2 separate regions of the Homo sapiens genome follow, and region 2 is linked to region 1. Evidence: promoter capture Hi-C in 16 types of primary human blood cells and fetal thymus (Javierre and others, 2016). All regions are on one chromosome and are shown on one strand. The core of a region is centred on a gene start or on the middle of the fragment in contact, and the rest is flanking DNA. Distances in the headings are between cores, read along the strand shown. Region 1 holds the start of CAMTA2 (calmodulin binding transcription activator 2). Region 2 overlaps ZFP3 (ZFP3 zinc finger protein).

Evidence for each region. The method cuts DNA at HindIII sites, captures the fragments that hold promoters and counts their contacts. A CHiCAGO score of 5 or more calls a contact.
Region 2: a contact is called between a fragment that was not itself captured here and the fragment with the promoter of CAMTA2 in region 1, in 1 of 17 cell types (non-activated CD4 T cells). The highest score is 5.9, in non-activated CD4 T cells.

What each region holds. Positions count from the first base shown.
Region 1 is chr17:4,986,326-4,989,160 of GRCh38, forward strand. CAMTA2 (calmodulin binding transcription activator 2) reads right to left here and starts at 1,350. Exons shown (of 23, transcript NM_015099.4): 1 at 1,268-1,350. It overlaps INCA1 (inhibitor of CDK, cyclin A1 interacting protein 1), which reads right to left. Exons shown (of 7, transcript NM_001394789.1): 6 at 2,454-2,619; 7 at 1,805-2,229. The coding sequence ends at 2,080. CAMTA2-AS1 (CAMTA2 antisense RNA 1) reads left to right here and starts at 1,419. Exons shown (of 3, transcript NR_187235.1): 1 at 1,419-1,900; 2 at 2,091-2,267; 3 at 2,362-2,835. RefSeq lists a silencer at 830-1,369. The HindIII fragment of the contact is 15,391 bases long and covers 1-2,299 here.
Region 2 is chr17:5,093,746-5,096,580 of GRCh38, forward strand. ZFP3 (ZFP3 zinc finger protein) reads left to right here. Exons shown (of 2, transcript NM_153018.3): 2 at 1-2,629. Among named protein-coding and RNA genes, the nearest start is that of ZFP3, 17 kb to the left of the region's middle. The HindIII fragment of the contact is 739 bases long and covers 1,052-1,790 here.

The DNA.
Region 1 (2,835 bases), core at 100-2,599:
CATTAATCCAGGATGAGAAGTATGAGGTAGGGAGTGGGTATAGAACTGGGTCATAGTATCTGGGAAGGATGAGGAAAGGGAGGGAGGGGCTGACTGTGATGTGACAGTAGAAGAGAGAACAACACACAGTGCCCGGAGCCAATATGAGTGAGCAGACTGGACAGGAAGAGTGAGCAGGAAGAAATGGGTTGGGGTGGGGGAGCGGGGAGAAGACTGGCAGGGCTTGGGCCTCAGAGGCCCTAAACCTTGAGCTTTTGCACAGACTGGGGCTATGGTTGGGTCAGGTCCTGGGGGTTGGGACTCAGGCCATCCGGTCCTTGGAGGATGGTTTGGCAAGAGAGCCTGGATCCTGGGGGCAGGGCAGGAGATTCTACCTCCGGTAGAAGCTAGGCCTTTAGAAGACACGCCCTGAGTTCCTTCTCTGTTTGATTTTTCCAAGGGGAAGGGCAGATCTGATAACTGAACCTAACCTATTCTCTCCTCCAGGTTGGTTAGGACCTGATAGAATCTGGGCCAGACACCCAGATTCCCACCCTCAGGACAACCCACCCTCCGGCTGACAGCCCTCTCTACGTAGCTCCCTCTCCCCAAACGCCTCTGCCTCCCCTGGCCTCCAGGCCTAGCCTACCCCATCTACCGCTCTGGCTCCAGCCTGAGCCCCCCGCCCTCCTCGGGGAACAGATGGGAGCTGGCGGAGGCTCTCAGCACGGGCTCCGCCAGGTGTCCAGGATGGAGATGGGAGGAGGCCCGTCGGGCTCGGCTATGTGCAGTGAAGCTGGGGTTGGGGTAAGGACTCCGCCCCAGGGCGCAGGTGCGCAGTCCTGGCTAGGCAGCCTGCCAGGGTGCGGAGCGGGAGCGGGTCCTTGGGCTGCACTTGGGCGGCGCCGGATCGGACGCTTGGCACTCTGGGCGGCCCCCCGGCGGAGTGGTGGTCCCAGGAGAACCTCCGAGGTGGGAGGGTCCCGCCCGCATAGAGGGATGTTCTGGAGAAGCCGGGAGCAGAGTCCGCGGGCACGCGGTGGGCGAGGGACAGTGCAGGTGCCGGGTGCGGGGGTCTCCGGGACAGTCCCCGGCACGCGCTGGTCCGCCGTGGGGCCCTGCGGTGAGCGGCGCCCCCTGGCGCGGGGGAGGAGGACGGAAGCGGGAGGTGAGGGCGAACCGGGAAGAGGGACGGTGGTCCCTGGCGCGGCGCTCCGCGTCGGGACCTGGAGGAGCTGCGCCCTCTGGCGCGGGGGCGGAGAGGCGGGCGAGAGGCCCTGGCTCTTACCTCCCGGGGTCCCGCGGGTGACGGCGGCAGCGGCCATTCTACCCCACACCGACCCCCCCCAGCGCCGGCTGACAGCGGCGTCTAACGTCACTGCGCACGGGGCGGGGCCTCCCAATTAAGGGGATGAGGGTCAGGAAGGGAACCTGGGGTCAGCACACGTGGAGTTCTGGGTGGGGCGCTGGGCAGAGGGACTCGGCTTCTAGGGCTCTGAGCCAGGCCGAGGGACAGACTGCTGGGAAGTCCCCAAAAGGGCAGCAGCACTGAGGGGCAGGATTCCAGGGTCCTGGAGGCGGAAGCTCGGCCGACTGACTCCCAGTTCGAGAGAACGGGGCGGGGGCAGCCCACCAGTGCTGGAACCCGAGGGGCCGGGCGAGGAACGCTGGACTGGGAGCAGGACCCTTCTCGCCTCGGACAAGACTCCTTGTCTGGGGACCCAGCCCGACTTCATTGTAGCTGGGTCCTCGAGAAAGCGAAAGGAGCCCTCCTTCCCCATTGGCCTCTCCATCGCTGCATCCCAAGAAGAAAGACAACTCGGGCTCCACTTGCTTGCTTTTTAATAACAGAGCAGAGAGAATACAAGGCCAGGAGCGGGGCCTGGAGGAAAACAGGACTTGGGGTGCTCCTGTGAGAGCGGTGGGTTGAGATGGGAGCCCACGGGGGCTGTTAATGCCTAGTTCAGAGGATGGGAAAGGCAGTTGGAGAGACGAAGGAAGGGGAAACGCCTTCATGTCAGCAATGAGGGTGACTCTAGTGACGGAACTAGTCTTGGGTCCCTGGGGCACCACTAGCCTCTCGGCATCGGTGGTTTCTCCTTACTCTTCAGACGCTGCCAACTCCATCCCCCAGGGATTGTGAAGGGGGTTCCTTCTGGCTGTGACAGTGCTGAACGAGGCCAGAGAGTGCAGCTGCCTGGAGGCACAAGCCTCCTCCTGATCCAGGGGGCTCCAGGGAGACCAAAGCAGCTGTCAAGATGAGAGAAATTGAAAAAGAAAATGGAAAAGTAGGTCTTCTTTCCAGATTTCCTAGTACCCAAGCTTAGGTACCTCGAAGTCTCTGGTTCTCACCTACGTTATTTTTGTTTCTCTCAAATCCAGCTCTCCAGCCTGGCTCTCAGCTTCTGCATCTCCATGCAAGACCAGAGACCCACATCACTCCCTCACTCCACCCAGTTCCACTCCAACAATACCTGGGCCCTGCCAGGAGTGAGAAAACGGTCCTCTTCCTGTGGATAGGTTGCTCTCTCCTCTTCCAGATCAGGGTATTCATTGGTGCTGGGGAATCCACAGCCCTCTTCGCCAAGCACCACTGGCTCAGATGCAGCCCCAGAGCTGCCCCACTGGGCCTTCTTCAGTCTGTGGAGACTTTAGGCTGAGGAGAGAAGTGCCTGGAGGCCAGGCTTCCTGTCTCTCCATTCTTCACCTTTCTGTTCTGAAATACTTCCTGCTGGGACTCCAGGGAGTTGTCATTTGACCTTTAACCCTCCACTCCCAATTTTCTGCTCCCCTCAGACTGAAGCATATTGTCTAGGAACCCAGAGGTGACCCCAACCTCCCCACTGTCCTCCAGTT
Region 2 (2,835 bases), core at 171-2,670, 110 kb after region 1:
TTCCTTATTCATCTGAAGAGGCTGCCATGATGGAGGAACTGACAGGCAATTTACAACGGGATTATAAGTGAAGGCCTTAGAATCCAGAGGGGCCGATTAGGCAACACCAGGGGATAAACAATTGAGGTCACACTGCTCGGCATGGGCAGAAGCAGCTCTTCAGGAGCTGTCCACACTTCAGGGGTGCTCAGACTGACTGCTCCTAAGAATTCTGCTGCATATATTTTTAGCCCCATCTCCTGCCACTGCTGACAGATATTGTGACAGTAAGTAGCAGACAGGACTGTGGCTTCACCTCCTCCGGGCACCTGGCTACAGTGATGAGTCAGTTCACCTGATGACAAACCAGGGTCTGGCCTTGCCAAAGCACTTAAGTTCTCATGACCTGGACCGCACTGGAGGCCCTGGCTAAGTCAGGATGTCGTAGCCTCTTCTTGGTTTTGCCCCTTGGCCTTGAAATTCTTTTTTCTTGAATAACTTTAAAAAAATAGAGATAAAGTCTTGCTATGTTGCCCAGGCTGGTCTTGAATGCCTGGGCTCCAGCAATCTTTTTGCCTCAACTTCCCAAAGTATTGAGATTACAGGTGTGAGCTACCATGCCCGGCCTTGAAATTCTTTCTTCGCTATGTCTGCATGTTTTTTGTGTTCTGTATTTATTTCTTCTCCAAGGAAACAGCCTACATTTTCCATGTGTCCATGTTTCTGAGGCCGTGGGTGACAGTGGGAATTGCACTAATGGGGGCCCAACAGGCCTGGGGGCTGGTCTTAGCGCTAGACCTTGAACAAGGCACTTCACCTGCTGGTCTCCAATTTTCTCCTCTGTAAAATGAAAGAGTTGAACTAAGTGATCTCAAAAGTTTCAACCAGCCCGATAATTCCTTAATTCTTTAAAAATTTAACTTTATATATCTTTATTATTCTTTAACCTCATCTTTGTTACACTAATATTAGTCACTAATATTTATTGAGTGTTTACTACCTGACAGGCAGAGTGCCAGTTTACATTTTAATTTTCACATCATTTCTATGATGTGGGTACTCATTTTTTTAAAGCTTTATGAAGGTATAATTTACGTACTATAAAATTCACCTGTTTTAAGTGTTCAGTTGAATGATTTTTAATTTACATAGTGGTGCAACCATCAATGATGTGGGTATTCTTACCCCAATTTAAAAGATAAGAAGGGGCAGTGTTAAGTAATTGACCCATGATTCCACAGCTAGTAAGAGCGACAGCCAAGACTCCAAACCTGGTTGATGCTCTTAACCACTGTGCTATGCCGCAGGTAGGCAGATTCATTACTGCCTTATCTGAAACCCTTTGCACAGTTTCTATTACTGATTTCTATGTAGATTTGAATATAACAAATTTAAATCATGTCCTTGGTAACAGAACTGATCACAGCCAAAAAAAATTCACCAAATGGGTTTATTCTGTACTCCAATATAGGTGTCTTCCCAGGTTTATATCCTTGGCTTGAGAAAAGGGTTGTACAAATAGATGATTGCAGAGTTTCCACATCCTTCCAGATACCTCTGCCTCTAGCAGTCACACTCTTAGTAAGGGAAGTTGTTTGATTTACTTCTTCCCTTAGGTTGATTACAAGTGAAGTGCGCCGTCTTATTCCTTTTTCATTGCTGGAGCACAAATTGAATTGTGCCCAGACCGTATCTTTCTCACATGAAACCTGGATCTCACCTATCCCTTCCATGCCTGATTCCCGTGTTTGCATATTTTATTTCCACATTTACCTCTTGTCAGCCCTGACAGAGAATTTGGCACCCCTTCAAGCTTCTCCTAAACAATCTATGCACACAAACACCCCTGAGCAATATGGACTTCACTGAAGATAGTGTGTAAGCAAAGGAGAAGAGTTCACATTGTGCATCCTATTAGACATTTTGTTCTCAGAAGTACCTTACTGGCCAAACCAATGAAGGTTTTCCTCTTGTCCTCCCCTCTCAAGGCTCAGTCACCTCAACTTCTTTTTGCCTACTAGATATCCAATCCATCACCTCGCCTCCCCTGGCCCTAGCTCAATTACCCTCTTAAACCCATTCCTGCTCAGCAAAACTTCCTCTAGTTCACCATTCATTCATTTGAACATTAGGAGGCAATTTAGTGACCTGTTGTACCTGACCATGTTCTTAAGGGGGAGGTCTCACGTCTCATTCCCAGAAAAGTCTACCATATATAGATACATATTCCCCGCCCCGCCCCAGATTTCTGGTGAATGAAATCACTTGTATCTTATTAGGTACATATACGCAAATCCTTAACCTCAATTCTCTGTCCTCTTCATGTCTTACCCAGATATCTCAGGAAGATTTCTCTTTTCCTTCTGTTTGCCTCCCTCTTCGACTTACTTGGGAGTCAGCATCTGACCACAGTCGTGACTGGTAATGATGATTTGTGCAAATACTATCAAGGAAAGGACATGAATTGTCTTAATTTTAGACCCATTAAAAAACCGCACAGGCCTCAATCTTAAAAGTCCTATCTAAATACCCAGAAATACCCTTCAGAATTTTTGAAGCTATGCCCATGTACAAAATTTTCTTCCTTCCCTAATTTTAATGGTATACTAACACCTTAGGTAAATAAAATATTTCTTTACTATTTTATTGATACAATGCCTTTGTCATGTTTATTCCAAATTGCATTATGTTTCACTATGGATTTAATAAGGACTTTGTTTACCAGTTTCATCCCCACCTTGTAAGTTTCACCTTACCTAAATACCCCCACATGCTTGTTAGCTTCTGGTTTTGCATACAGTGTACATTCTGTGTCCTTGATCTGCTTTGCTTGGTGAGATCCTTCATCTTAAATAA